Linked DNA regions of Homo sapiens: region 2 is linked to region 1. The links are contacts of gene promoters, found by promoter capture Hi-C in human tissues and cell types (Jung and others, 2019). All regions are on one chromosome and are shown on one strand. Each heading gives the region's core, a stretch centred on a gene start or on the middle of the fragment in contact. The rest is flanking DNA. Distances are from core to core; before and after follow the strand shown. Region 1 holds the start of KRT33B (keratin 33B). Region 2 holds the start of KRTAP4-2 (keratin associated protein 4-2).

The links. The method cuts DNA at HindIII sites, captures the fragments that hold promoters and counts their contacts. A contact is called where the count stands out against the background at its distance.
Region 2: the fragment with the promoter of KRTAP4-2 here is called in contact with the fragment with the promoter of KRT33B in region 1 in 2 of the 25 tissues and cell types used here (IMR-90 fibroblasts and heart left ventricle).

Annotation. Positions count from the first base shown.
Region 1 is chr17:41,365,983-41,372,434 of GRCh38, forward strand. It overlaps KRT33B (keratin 33B), which reads right to left and starts at 3,831. Exons shown (of 7, transcript NM_002279.5): 1 at 3,421-3,831; 2 at 1,926-2,008; 3 at 488-644. The coding sequence starts at 3,768. The HindIII fragment of the contact is 10,508 bases long and covers 1-5,230 here.
Region 2 is chr17:41,174,802-41,180,803 of GRCh38, forward strand. It overlaps KRTAP4-2 (keratin associated protein 4-2), which reads right to left and starts at 3,420. Exons shown (of 1, transcript NM_033062.4): 1 at 2,645-3,420. The coding sequence starts at 3,363. The coding sequence ends at 2,953. The HindIII fragment of the contact is 21,892 bases long and covers 1-6,002 here.

The DNA.
Region 1 (6,452 bases), core at 2,581-5,080:
ATTCAGCCATGAGATCTGAATCAACCATTATTTGAGTTATTTCATTTCTCCCGTTTTTCCCATCCATCAGTTCATCCATCCATCCATTCATCCATCTATCCATTTATCTAGCTTGAGTTCTAGTTATCTAGGTGAAACAGAGTGTAAGAATGTTTTCTATCTCCTTCCAGTCTTGGTCATTAACCTACCTGGCACCTCTTCAGAAGCTAATAGATAGCATCAAACAGTAGACAGTAGTTTAAAGATATTTGTGTGACCTTTCAGCCATACATGTCTGGTCCCAAGGGGAAGTAGGTCAGCTTACCACACTCCTTTATGTAAAAAAGGTAAGCTGTCACTCATTCCCCAACAAGCCCCAAAGTATGTTTTGAGCAACCAGCAAAATGTTGTTAGGCCTAGGGTGCTTAGCAAATCAAATCCTACCTTATCCTATTCAGGGGGATCACAGAGCTCTCAGTATTGGGATATTGGGGGCTGGGACTCTTACCTGCTCATGGTTCTGCTTGAGGGACAGCAGCTCCTCCTTCAGGGACTCCATCTGGGCCTCCAGGTCAGACCTGCACAGGGTCAGCTCATCCAGAATCCTGCGCAGGCTGTTGATGTCGGACTCCACCAGCTGCCGCAGGGACTGCTCCGTCTGGTACCTGCACACACAGCCAGAGGTCAAAAGAGGTCCAAAAAAAAAAAGTCTTTGTTTCCCGGCCTTTACTTGGCTGACTTAGTCAATTTTATTATATTTTGAAATATTTTGAATTTAAAAAATTAAGGGAGAAAATACTCCTGTACTGAGTGAGAAGGCCTATTTTGTCACTGAGACACACAGAAAAGGTATTGGTGGAATGCCTGTGGATAGTTTAGTCTAACACAAACTAAGTTTGTTCTAAGACTCTCGTTTACAAGTTACTATCAACTAAGCCCTGCTGCTTTTGCCATCTCAAGTGAATCAGTGCCCTTCATAAGCCTGCTCCAGGTTGTCCTGTCATCCTTTCCAGCCTTGCCAAGAAGCAATCTAGTGTTGTGGAAGAAACACTGAATTCAGAGTTAGAGCCAGTATTCTCATTAAATGACTGTAGATAGATACCTTTATCTCTCTGAGGCTTGATTTCCTTAACTGTAAAATGAAGACAAAACTAACACCTTATAGGGTTGGACTGAAGATGATATATGTAAAATTATGTTGTAAAATGTAAGATCCCAGGAAAATGCAAAGGATTCTCATGATTGTAATAATGGTCATACCTAAAAGTATTGATTGATTCTCTGAAAGGCAATGGATTTTGCCTCCTGTTTTTGTGGTTTAATAACTTCTTTTTGGGGGGTTGACAGTGACTAACGTATACAAAGAGACCAATGTGAAAATCACTTTCAAACTTACTCCAGACGTTGGGTTGAAAAGGAGTAAGAATGGATGGTGTCTTACAATCAAACTTAAAGCACAGGGCTGCGCACAGTGGCTCACGCCTGTAATCCCAGCAGTTTGGGAGGCTGAGGCGGGTGGATCACTTGAGGTCAGGAGTTCAAGACCAGCCTGACCAACATGGTAAAACCCGGTCTCCACTAAAAATATAAAAATTAGCTGGGCCTGCTGGCGCATGCCTGTAATCCCAGCTACGAGGAAGGCTGAGGCAGGAAAATCACTTGAATCCGGGAGGCGGAGGTTGCAGTGAGCCAAGATTGCATCACTGCACTCCAGCCTGGATGAGAGAGGGAGACTCCATCTCAAAATAAAAAAATTAAAAAAAAAAACTTAAAACACAGAATCTGAGCACCTATTGAAGAGGCTTTGACATTTAACCTAATCCTAACCCAATGCAAGAATCCTCCCAATAGAAATTTCTGCTTCCACATTCCAGGATAGGGAGCTCATCACTTTGTAATTCAGCCTGTCCGTTACTAGACTGCTCTGATGGTTAGGAAAATCTTACTTGGTTCTGAAGTCATCTGCAGCCAGCTTGGCATTGTCGATCTGCACCACCAGCCTGGCATTCTCAGACTTGCTGCACAGGATCTGGGGATAGGATTAATCATGAAATGGGTTATACTAAGAAATGCCTTGTGCCTTAAAGTGAAATGCTATTTTCTTTCAGCCACATTCCTCCCAAATAGCTTTGAGTCCTTTCAGATTTTCAGCTCTGAGATAAAAGGAGGATTTGATCATAAAACTGATCATTTCAAAACCAGGACAACCAATGTGAATTCATCATGAATTCTATTCTTATCTGCTTCTGGCTTCCTGCAATAATTAGGTTACTGGGTATCCAACCCTTCGGTTGGGTGACCAACCATCCCAGTTAACTTAGGACTGAGGGGTTTCTGGGATGCTAAAATGGGAAAAATCCCAGGCAAGCCAGAACAACTTGGTTATCCAACACATTCCACCTGCTAACTTCTCTCCACTCTCCCCTCATATTGCCCTTGTTCATGCCTTTGCAAAAAGCTTCTTGCTGTACCCAGAATGCCCTCACCCACTAGCAAGACCCCTTGTGTAACCCACATACTTAATCAATAACACTTCTTATGACCTTTGTGTGATCATTTTGTTTCCACATCTATCTCCCCTGTTAGACTGTGAGCTCCTGAAGGAAGGAGACTGTCTTACTCAGTACATTATCCCCCACCCCAGCACTGTGCCTAACACTCTCCAACTCTGGGTAAATAAATGAATGATATTCAAATAGCACAACCCCTTTCTGGCATCTAATTTTCCAGATCTACAGAACAGTGGGCAGTCAATTCCCTCCCAGAATCAAGGGCTTGTACAATTGGATATAAACTCCCACTCATCCTTCAAACCCCACTCAGACATTGCCTCTTCTGGGATCCCTCCCAAACCTACACCAGGTATTCAGTCCCAATTCTCTGTGGACTCTTTACTTATATCTACTTCTCTTCCAGAACAGATGGCCCCATATTGTCATCTGTACACATGGCTGCTCTAGAGGATGGTCCATGTGTCTGTAGATATTGCTGGAGTCAACAGCTCTCTTGTGTTGCCATAAATGCTATATTTTGCTACAGCTTTGAAAGGCTTTAAATATTTGAAGATTTACTTAGGAAATTCTTAGCATAGAAAATAATTCAGGTGCATACTTTTTGAAAATGCGGTAATGCTCTGAAAACAAAACCAGGGTATCATAATCAAACCAAAAAATCAGATATTCTGGTTTGGAGTAAGACGCCATATAAGATTGCTATGACTGATTTTGGTCTAATGCTTCACTCTAACACCAGCCTGCATCCTTCCTTTGTGGCTCTACAACAGATTTTCTAAGACTACTTGATGTCATACCTAAGCCAGTGAATCTATGTCTTTATCATTCTCAGCATTACTGTGAACAGACTTAGATCCATTCACAGTTTAGTATGTCAAATATAGATAAGTAGTTCATTAAGCTGGCAGTGTGGTGCCCACCTCCTCACCTTCTGCTGGAGCTCCTCAATGGTCTTGAAGTAGGACTGGTAGCTGGGGCACAGCAAGGGCTCCTGCTGCTGAGACCGCTCCCGGATGAGGTTCTCCAGCTCCGCGTTGTCCCGCTCCAGCTGACGCACCTTCTCCAGGTAGCTGGCCAGGCGGTCGTTCAGGAACTGCATAGTCTCCTTCTCGCTGCCATTGAAGGAGCCCTCGCAGAACCAGTTGCAGTTGCTCACATTGGCAGGGATGTTGCAGGCCCCGGGCAGGGTGTAGCCGTGGCAGCTGGGGGGCACACAGGGCCGGGAGGAGCAGCTGGTGCGGCAGCTCAGGCTGGGCAGGCAGAAGTTGTAGGGCATGGTGCAGGGAGGCAGTGGAGCTCTGGAAGTCAGTTTCAAAACCTGATTCCTTTTCCCTGGGATAAGCCTTGGTCCTTTCCAGGGCTTTATATTCTGTTAGCAGTGGGTGTGGCAACCATGTCAAGTATTCCTCCTTTTTACCTCCTTTGCTGATTTTTCCATTTGTTATTTAGCCACTTCACCTGAGTCCTATACCTCATTAAATGTTTTACTCTGGCTTCTTGCTAAGTCAGGACTCCTCACAAAACATGCTGATTGGTTAAGTAAGAGCTTCATGGTTTGGCTTCAAAGTGACCAACCTTGCCTGTAGCAGTGCTTATCCATGGGACATTGAGCTAGAGTGACAGCTGGGCCCTGTCCCCAGAGTAGGGGGCACATATGTGCCTCTTTCTCCTAAATGAGGAAAGGCTTGTGTCTCATCCAGTTCATATTCAATTAAGACTCTGTGAGAAAAGCCATGTAAGGAAACCCGTCTAGAAACTAGACTATGTGATAGGGAATCCTGGAAGCTGAAATGAGAAAGGACTTACAAGGCCATTGGTTCAAGGCCCATTTGCAGTTCCATCCAGGCAGATGGAGGCAACTCTACCCTCTTCCTATGGGGCTGCAGGAAGCCACCCACCTCCGTTTCTACTAGTATTCAGTGTTCACAGAACATTAAGAAACCTAAATTTTGGGAGCACCTACTCTGCATGAAGCACTGTGCTCCATGCCTGTGCACAGCGTGACTCTGTCATTGGTGATGGGTCCTGCTTGCTGAGCCTCCACTGTGCACCAGGCACAGTGCCAGGCACCTCATATGCACCAGCTCCTTCAGTCCTCTCAAAATGCTGCAAGGGTTTGTAGATAAGGACCCTAAGCCTCTGAGAGGTCTCCCAAGGTCACAGAGCTCCTACATGATGGAGCCAGGGTTCAAATACAGATCTCTCTAATTCCAATGTCCACACTCTGTCATATTACATGTCTCTCTCTTCCAATCTTTTCAGTACTGAGATGCAATAATGCAAAAAATACAGATTGAGCTCCATTGAGCTCAATCAGTGCTGACAATATCCTAAATTAGAATGGGCCAAAAAATAACAAGCCTGTTTTTTACTTATTAAAGAACCAAAAGTCACTTCTATGCTGAAGGAAGGAAGTTTACTAAGTGAAAATGCCTCATACCCACTAGAAGCTTGAAAAAAAAAAAAAAAGGAAACCCTTGGTTGATCTGAGGGAGAAATACCCAAGCCTAGCTCTCCAAAGGATATGACCCTGAAAATCCACCACTATGTCATGTGCATGAAGTGGCATTTTATGACCATTGGCACATTTTGGCAAGCAGATGCTCTACTCTCATGCATTCCAGATGGAACTATGAAATATGAGGATTTTATGTTTAATCTATCAGTGCTCAAATTCTGAAAGATACTCCTCCAAGTTGTTCCTTTTGGAAGCTACATATTAAGTCTTGCCATACAAGAATTCTTTTCCTACAGGTGACCTGCCATTCCTCAGATCACCCTTCCTTCAAACTTGCCTTCACAGCTTGGGACACATTCTTTTGGTTATCCTCATTGAAGGCCAATCTTCATCTTCTATGGGTGTGTTTATTTTTGGAACCAGCCAGAAGTCATTTGAAACCACACCTAGTGCATAGGGTGAATAACCAAGCTGCATAGCATCTTTAATGGGTCAGAAACAGGTTGTGACTACAAAATAATAATGTGTGTTTTCTTGGGTGACTCTGGAAGTCATTTCCAAGGAGAAGCTTCAAATATGCTTTTATAAAGGACAGCAGCTTTGGGGCAAACATGTGGTCTTCCAGGGTGAATGCATTGAAGGTACTGATATCCTCCCCTACAATCACAATCCACAACTTTCTGCCCCTCCTGCCTGAATCTCTAATTTTTTTTTTTTTTTTTTTTTTTTGGAGACAGAGTCTCACTCTATTGCTCTATTGCCCAGGCTACAGTGCAGTGGTGCAATCTCAGCTCACTGCAACCTCCGCCTCCCAGGTTCAAGCTATTCTCCTGTCTCACCCTCCCTAGTAGCTGGGATTAGAGGCGTGCACCACCTGTAATGTGCCTGGCTAATTTTTGTATTTTTAGTAGAGACAGGGTTTCACTATGTTGGGCAGGCTGGTCTCAATCTCCTGACCTCAGGTGATCCACCCGCCTCAGCCTCCCAAAGTGCTGGGATTACAGGAGTGAGCCACTGCACCCGGCCTGAATCTCTACCTTTAAAATGATTCCACTATCAGTGAGATGTGGCATGGGCATATTGGTTTAAAATCAGTACCAAACCATTAAAGTCCTATTGGATGAGATCAAATAACATAAAGCAAATAGCTGAATTCATTAGCTTTTCTCTAATTACCTTGTGTTCTTCTCTCCTTCTTCTACGTCCCAAGCTTCAAAAGGAAAAATCTGACAATGGCACTTTTTAAAGAAAAGGGAAGGAATAGTGTGTCACAGACTGGTAAATATGTCCACAGGGATCCCTATAACCATTGCTGTAGCTTCTACCTCAGTCACAGTGGAATAATCCAGAGATAAGTATCCTTGTGTCTTTAAAAGTGGAGGTCAGAGTTTAGAAAACACAACTATTCCCACATCTTGAGTAGAAGTAACTATAATTTCTGCACAGCTACTTGGCCATTATGTACTAATAGTTGGAAGAACTTGGGTCTATGGAGAAAAGAG
Region 2 (6,002 bases), core at 2,170-4,669, 190 kb before region 1:
CATTGTGAGCATCCTACAATACAGCATGCTGATCCACAATATTGATAATGTCATGTGAATCAGATTTGATGAACACAAAATGTGAATACTGTGGAGACCTTGCTAAGGATCCATGTGCTCTAGAAGAGAAGAGAAAAGGATTCCAGAGGCTGCCACACTGGTAATATTTTTAAGCATCCTGTCTACAGCATACCAGGACACCACTGCTGAACATCCGACCTGCCAGCAAGAGAGTGGCCCTGAGTCCCTCGTAAGGTACCATCCTATGAGAGGATCAGCCAGTTACTTGCTGCTGATGGAATTGACATACAGTCAGGCGATGGGCTTGCATTTTCTGCTTGCAGTGCCTCAGCCAGCACCGTTATATGGGGGCCCAAGAGAACTTGTTGTGGCAGTGTGGAATCCTACCTAACTTCACCTTTGACTGATCAACCCCATATGGAGCACAAGGTGTGTGGCAATGGGCAGGTAACTGTAGATACTCTGTTACCCACAGTATACTTTATGCTGCACCATCCAGAAACAGCTGAACGGATAGTGTGATGCAACCACCTCTTGAAGCCATAATGGAGGTCTCAGCTTGGAGATGACACCCTGTGAGGTGGAGCGCTGTTCTTCAGGATGCAGTAAGAATTATTACACCAATCACCATCACATGGTACTGTGTCCACAACAGGTAAAATACATTAATACAGAAAACCAAAGTGTGGACAGAGGAGTTGCTCACTCACCTTCATGCCCTGTGAGCCACTTGAGGGAATTTGTGCTCCCTCCCAAATAACTGTAAGTTTTATGGAGAGGTCCTGGCTCCAAGAAGGGAGGAGCCACCTCCAGGGGGCATAGTAAGGATTTGATTGGAATTAAAGCTATGGTTGTTACCTTATCACTTTGGCTGGAGAAAAGCACATAAAGAAAAGGGCTGTTGCCACAGGCAATTGGCCTCATCATCATGAGGAAGTAGGACCACTGCTATGCCAATGGGGACAGGGAGGAATATATTTAGCACTTAAGTGATCCTCTGGGACATGCTTGGTGCTTCTACTTCCAGCCTTGACTGCATATGAGCAAGTTCAAGGGCTCAAGCCTGATAAGGACACAGTAACCAAGGCTTAGAGCTCTCAGGATGAGGACTCGGGTTACCCTACCAAGCAAGTGACCTAGACCAGAAGCAGGGGTGCCCATGACCCCTCCTCTCATACGTTTCTCTAGAAACTGTGACCAACCAGTTGGAGTGAGCCTAATGAGAGAAACAGCTGCAGCTGAGCAGTGCCAGAGGTGGACTACAGGGCTCCCTATCCTGATCCCATTTACCAGAAAGATACCCCCATCCCCAAGCTAGTGTAAGTAGGACAGCCAGCAGCTCCCTTTGTTCACCTGCACACTTCTCCAGATAGTTGTCCTCAGCTTACAGGAGCCACCTCATCTGGAGGATTCCGCCCTCTTCGCATCCTCTTCCTCTCCCACAGGGTGGGCCATAGCTAGTGGTAACTGATGTAGGATTGTAAAGTTCCAACGACCTTACCTCTCAGAAAGATGGGTCTGTAATACCATTCACACTCTAGAGCTTCCTGTGGGGTCAAATGACAATAAAATCCTTTTGGGCTTAGCCTCTTCTACAATCCTATTCTGTTTCCGACATTTCCTTACTGATTTCTCCTGAGAGCATTTTCTTATAAAAGTCACTTGTGCAAACATCCTGTTTTAGATCTTTCTTTGGTGCCTCCAACTTAGCAGCATGGCTCAGGGTGAAACCTTTTTCAATATAGCCTTTTTTAGGATGAGAATCACCAACACGGTGGTTGTGTCCTATCCCTCAGATAAAACGATGTGAAGAAAAAAACAATCAAAGACAACTAGTTTAAAAGCAAACATGCATATTGAAATAAAAACTTTAAAAATTAAAATTCTTAAAAGAAGACCAAAAAAGTAAATGAACAAATAATAGAAAAAAATTGTAATGCGCAAAAATTGAAAAGAAAAAAAACAGCAAAATGTTCAGAGGTGTCCATTCAGGTGACAGTAAACTCAAGAGTTGATCAAAATCTATGGTAACCATTCATATTGTACAAAAACATTTTGAAGGACACTAATACTGAGATTAGGAATGCTGCTGTTTTAGATTGTGTGCTCTCTGGGGCAAACCCACAAAAGAGGATCTGAGAACATGTGGTATATTTGGACGATTAACCCAAGAAACACTGGAGGAAACTTGAAGAATGACCCTGGGAAGGAGGGAAAGTCATTATAGAGTGAGTTCATGATCAGAATGTTCCTGCAGGCATCTGGTATAAATCCCGCTGAAGACCTCTGGAAGACTGGTTTGACATACCCCCCACTGGAGGGAAACAAGCCAGGGCATATATTACCAACTCCCACTCATTCTCTGAGTGCTGTTCCTAGAGGCTTTAAGTCTCCAGCCCAGAGTTTGCTCCTTTATCCAGAGAAAGTCCTCAGGTAGAGAGTTCCAGGTGCCTGCTCTAAGGAACCATTTTCCTATGTTTGAATGGAGAGTGCTGATAGGATAGAGGTGGAGCCCCTGATATCATCTGCTGTGGTCTTCTCCCTCTGCAGGGAAGAACATCAGAAAATTTGACAGGTAAGGATGAGAATTCAAGAAGGAAAAATGAGACACAATGCCCGTATATTATTTGTATGCCTCAAAAATTAAAATTTATTTAAGATAGAGGAATAGCTCCATGTGATAAATTATGGTAGAGAGCAAATATTTCAATTCAGGGAACATGGGGTTGACATATTTCAGAGAAAATTCAAACTTGTATTCATTTGGTAGAGGGTAGCAACATAGTGTTTGGTGAGCATATTTGGAGGCCAAACTCAATCCAAGAATTGGTTGGAACTGAGGTTGTCCAATTGGCCTTGCATGATTCAGTTCACAGGTGGATCATATCAAGAATGCTGGTTAATAAAGGCAGGTGAGTATAGGTGAGGGCATCAGCAGCAAGAGCCACTAGAGCAGGTTGGGCGGCAGCAGGTGGACACACAGCAGCTGGGGCGGTAGCAGGTGGTCCTGCAGCAGGTGGTCTGGCCACAGCTGGGGCGGCAGCAGGTGGGCTGGCAGTACACAGACTGGCAGCACTGGGGTCTGAAGCAGCTGGACACACAGCAGCTGGGACGGCAGCAGGTGGTCCTGCAGCAAGTGGTCTGGCAGCAGCTGGGGCTGCAGCAGGTGGGCTGGCAGCACACAGACTGGCAGCACTGCGGTCTGCAGCAGCTGGACACACAGCAGCTGGGGCGGCAGCAGGTGGTCCTGCAGCAGGTGGTCTGGCAGCAGCTGGGACGGCAGCAGTTCTCTAGGCCACAGCCCTGGTCAGAGCACACAGAGCCACAACAGGAGTTGACCATGGTGTCAGAGGGTGGAGGTTCTGGGTGGATTTCCAGGAAGGTGGGTTTGGAAGGTTTGGAAGTTTCCTTGCCCCAGATCCTCTTTTATACCCTGCTAAGGCCTGATGTCATCAGATGCAACACTCTTTCCTTGTTATTATTTGTCCTGATATGTAGGCAATTATCAAATTAGGCAAGTTTGTTGTTCTGGTTAACTTATCCACATAGATGGAAACACTGTCTCCTTTCCCTAATGTGTTAGGACTCCTTAGCTCAGCTCTTCCTGAACCACCTCCTGTGTCTCTCTTACTATAGCTTCCTCCTAGAGCAGCCATGTGACATCTGCCTGTAAGCACATACTATGTGCTTCAGTCTCATTTGCTTAACACATCATGACTACTCTTGGGTGATTACTATTCTTACAGGCCCTTGACTCTTTCTGGTGACTCAGGAGGATAAAGCTGCATTTCAGTCTGATGGCTCCTTCATTATGGGTCAGATGGCCTGTGAAGGTTTCAGTGTGAAACAGATTTCAGTGTGAAACAGATGACCACTGGTGTGAGAACGAGAACACCGTAGGACCTATCGCTTTTTTATCTTCCGCACTCTGAATTGTGACCCATTTTCTAGACCTTCTGATGAGAAATACAGAGCTGTTTTAAGGTGGAAAACTAAGCTGTGAAAGTTTGATGTTTCCTTTTCTACAGAAACAACCCTCCAAAATTCAGATTCAGGGCCTCTTGGGGAATGTTGGCTTCAGAGAACAGCTATACTTAAAGGTCCAAGTCCCTCATTTTTTTGCTCCCTGGGGCAGATTTTCCTTGTGACTTTGCCTTTCTGCCTTCCTAGCTCTAACAGGGCACATGAGCTCATCTCTCCAGGTTCCAAAATTTTCTGGCCAACCCAAATTAGATGACTCAGTATCCTTTGCTTGCTCTAATTCGCTCCCAGCCCTCTTGCTTTCTCTGCTGAATTGCTGGGCCTTGAAGATGTCCTATACTCTGCTGCTTCCTTATAGAAGTTGTTGATCCAATTTCACACTTTACATCTTTGTTTTCAAAAAATAAATCAATAAAGAGAGAAAGAAAGCAGAAAACAGGTATCAAGAACAAAGGATATCAGCCTATATTTTTTCATGTAGGGATGGCTGACTATTGTTTCAAAAATGTGCTATGTTGTCAATTCATTAACTCATCAGTTAATAAATATATATGTATTTCCCCACCCCTGAGGAGTCAAGGAACCCAGGGAAGGGGGTGGAAAAATGTCTGACTTACCATGATAGAAATGTTTTATGAACTGGGCAGCCTCTGCAGATAATCAGGGGAGGAGTTTCAGTGTAAGCTGGTGTTTCTGAGGGAGATCCAAGAACCAGATGGAGGGGATTGGATGAATGAGGGAGATTCCCTTTCTTCTCTCAGGTGCTTATAAGTCTAATAAATCAAATTGTGGTGTTCTTATGATGCTGCTATGTTCCAAGCCAGTTCCTACTCCTGCCCTGGCCCTAATTTCCAGGTGATTCAAGCAGAATGAAAACAACTTGGGCTCCCAAGTGAACCCCTGCTTGGTGCGCTGGCTGGTGTTCTGAGCCTGCACTGTTCTCTGGCTCTGATGTACCCAGACATCATATTTTATTGAGGGATGAAAGTGGGTTCCATGATGCTGTGGAATTAAGACCCTGTGAGCCCCATGGTGGTGTACGAGAACAACTCTAAGATTTCCAGGAGACCTTGTATTCTGGAAAAGAATCGTGCCCTTGAGAAGCCGTGACGATTGGTGCCTGCTGATGATTCAGTAGAGATCACTTTATATTAACTATTTTTCTTCATGATGTGAGTGTGTGTGAGTGTGTGTGTGTGTGTGTGTGTTTTCCTTAAGATAAATTTACATTATATTTAGGAATCTCTCACGATTTCTTCTAGTACTTTAACAATTTCATTTTTTCTACCTCTACTCAGCTATAATTGAAATATAAAATTGTATGTATATAAGGTGTACACCCTGATGCTCTGATATGTATATATTGTGAAATTATTGTCATGATCAAATTAGTTCACCTCCACCACTTCACATAGTTACCATTTTTTGAGTGTGTGTAGTGAGAACATTTTAGATCTAGTCTTTCAGCAAATTTTAAATATACAATACAGTGTAATTAACTACAGTGACCATGCTGTACATTAGATCCTCAGAACCTATTCTTCTTATAAATGAATATTTTCTCCCTTTGACCAACATTTCCTCATTTCCTCCATCCACAACCTTTGACAATCACCATTCTACCCTCTGTTTCTATGAGTTTTTAGATTCCACATGTAAATGAGATTATTTGTCTTTCATTGTCTGACCTACTTCACTTAGCATAATGTCCTCAAAGTCCATCCATGTTGTCCCAAATGACAGGATTTTCTTCATTTCATGGCTAATAACATTTCAGTGTGTGTGTGTGTGTGTGTGTAAAATCCTTGCAATCTTACATTGGTGTTTGTGCCTTTGAGGACACAGTCTCCTCTTCCACACTTTACAAGTTCCCTTCAGCAGGGAAAGACTCTCAGCAGTCAACTCGGCCTGGGATTCTGGACGGGGAAGCTGGTAGCATTTGTGAACAGGCAGGGCTTACTCTTGGGGGTCTCTGGGTGGGTAAAACTCCTGCCCAGGCC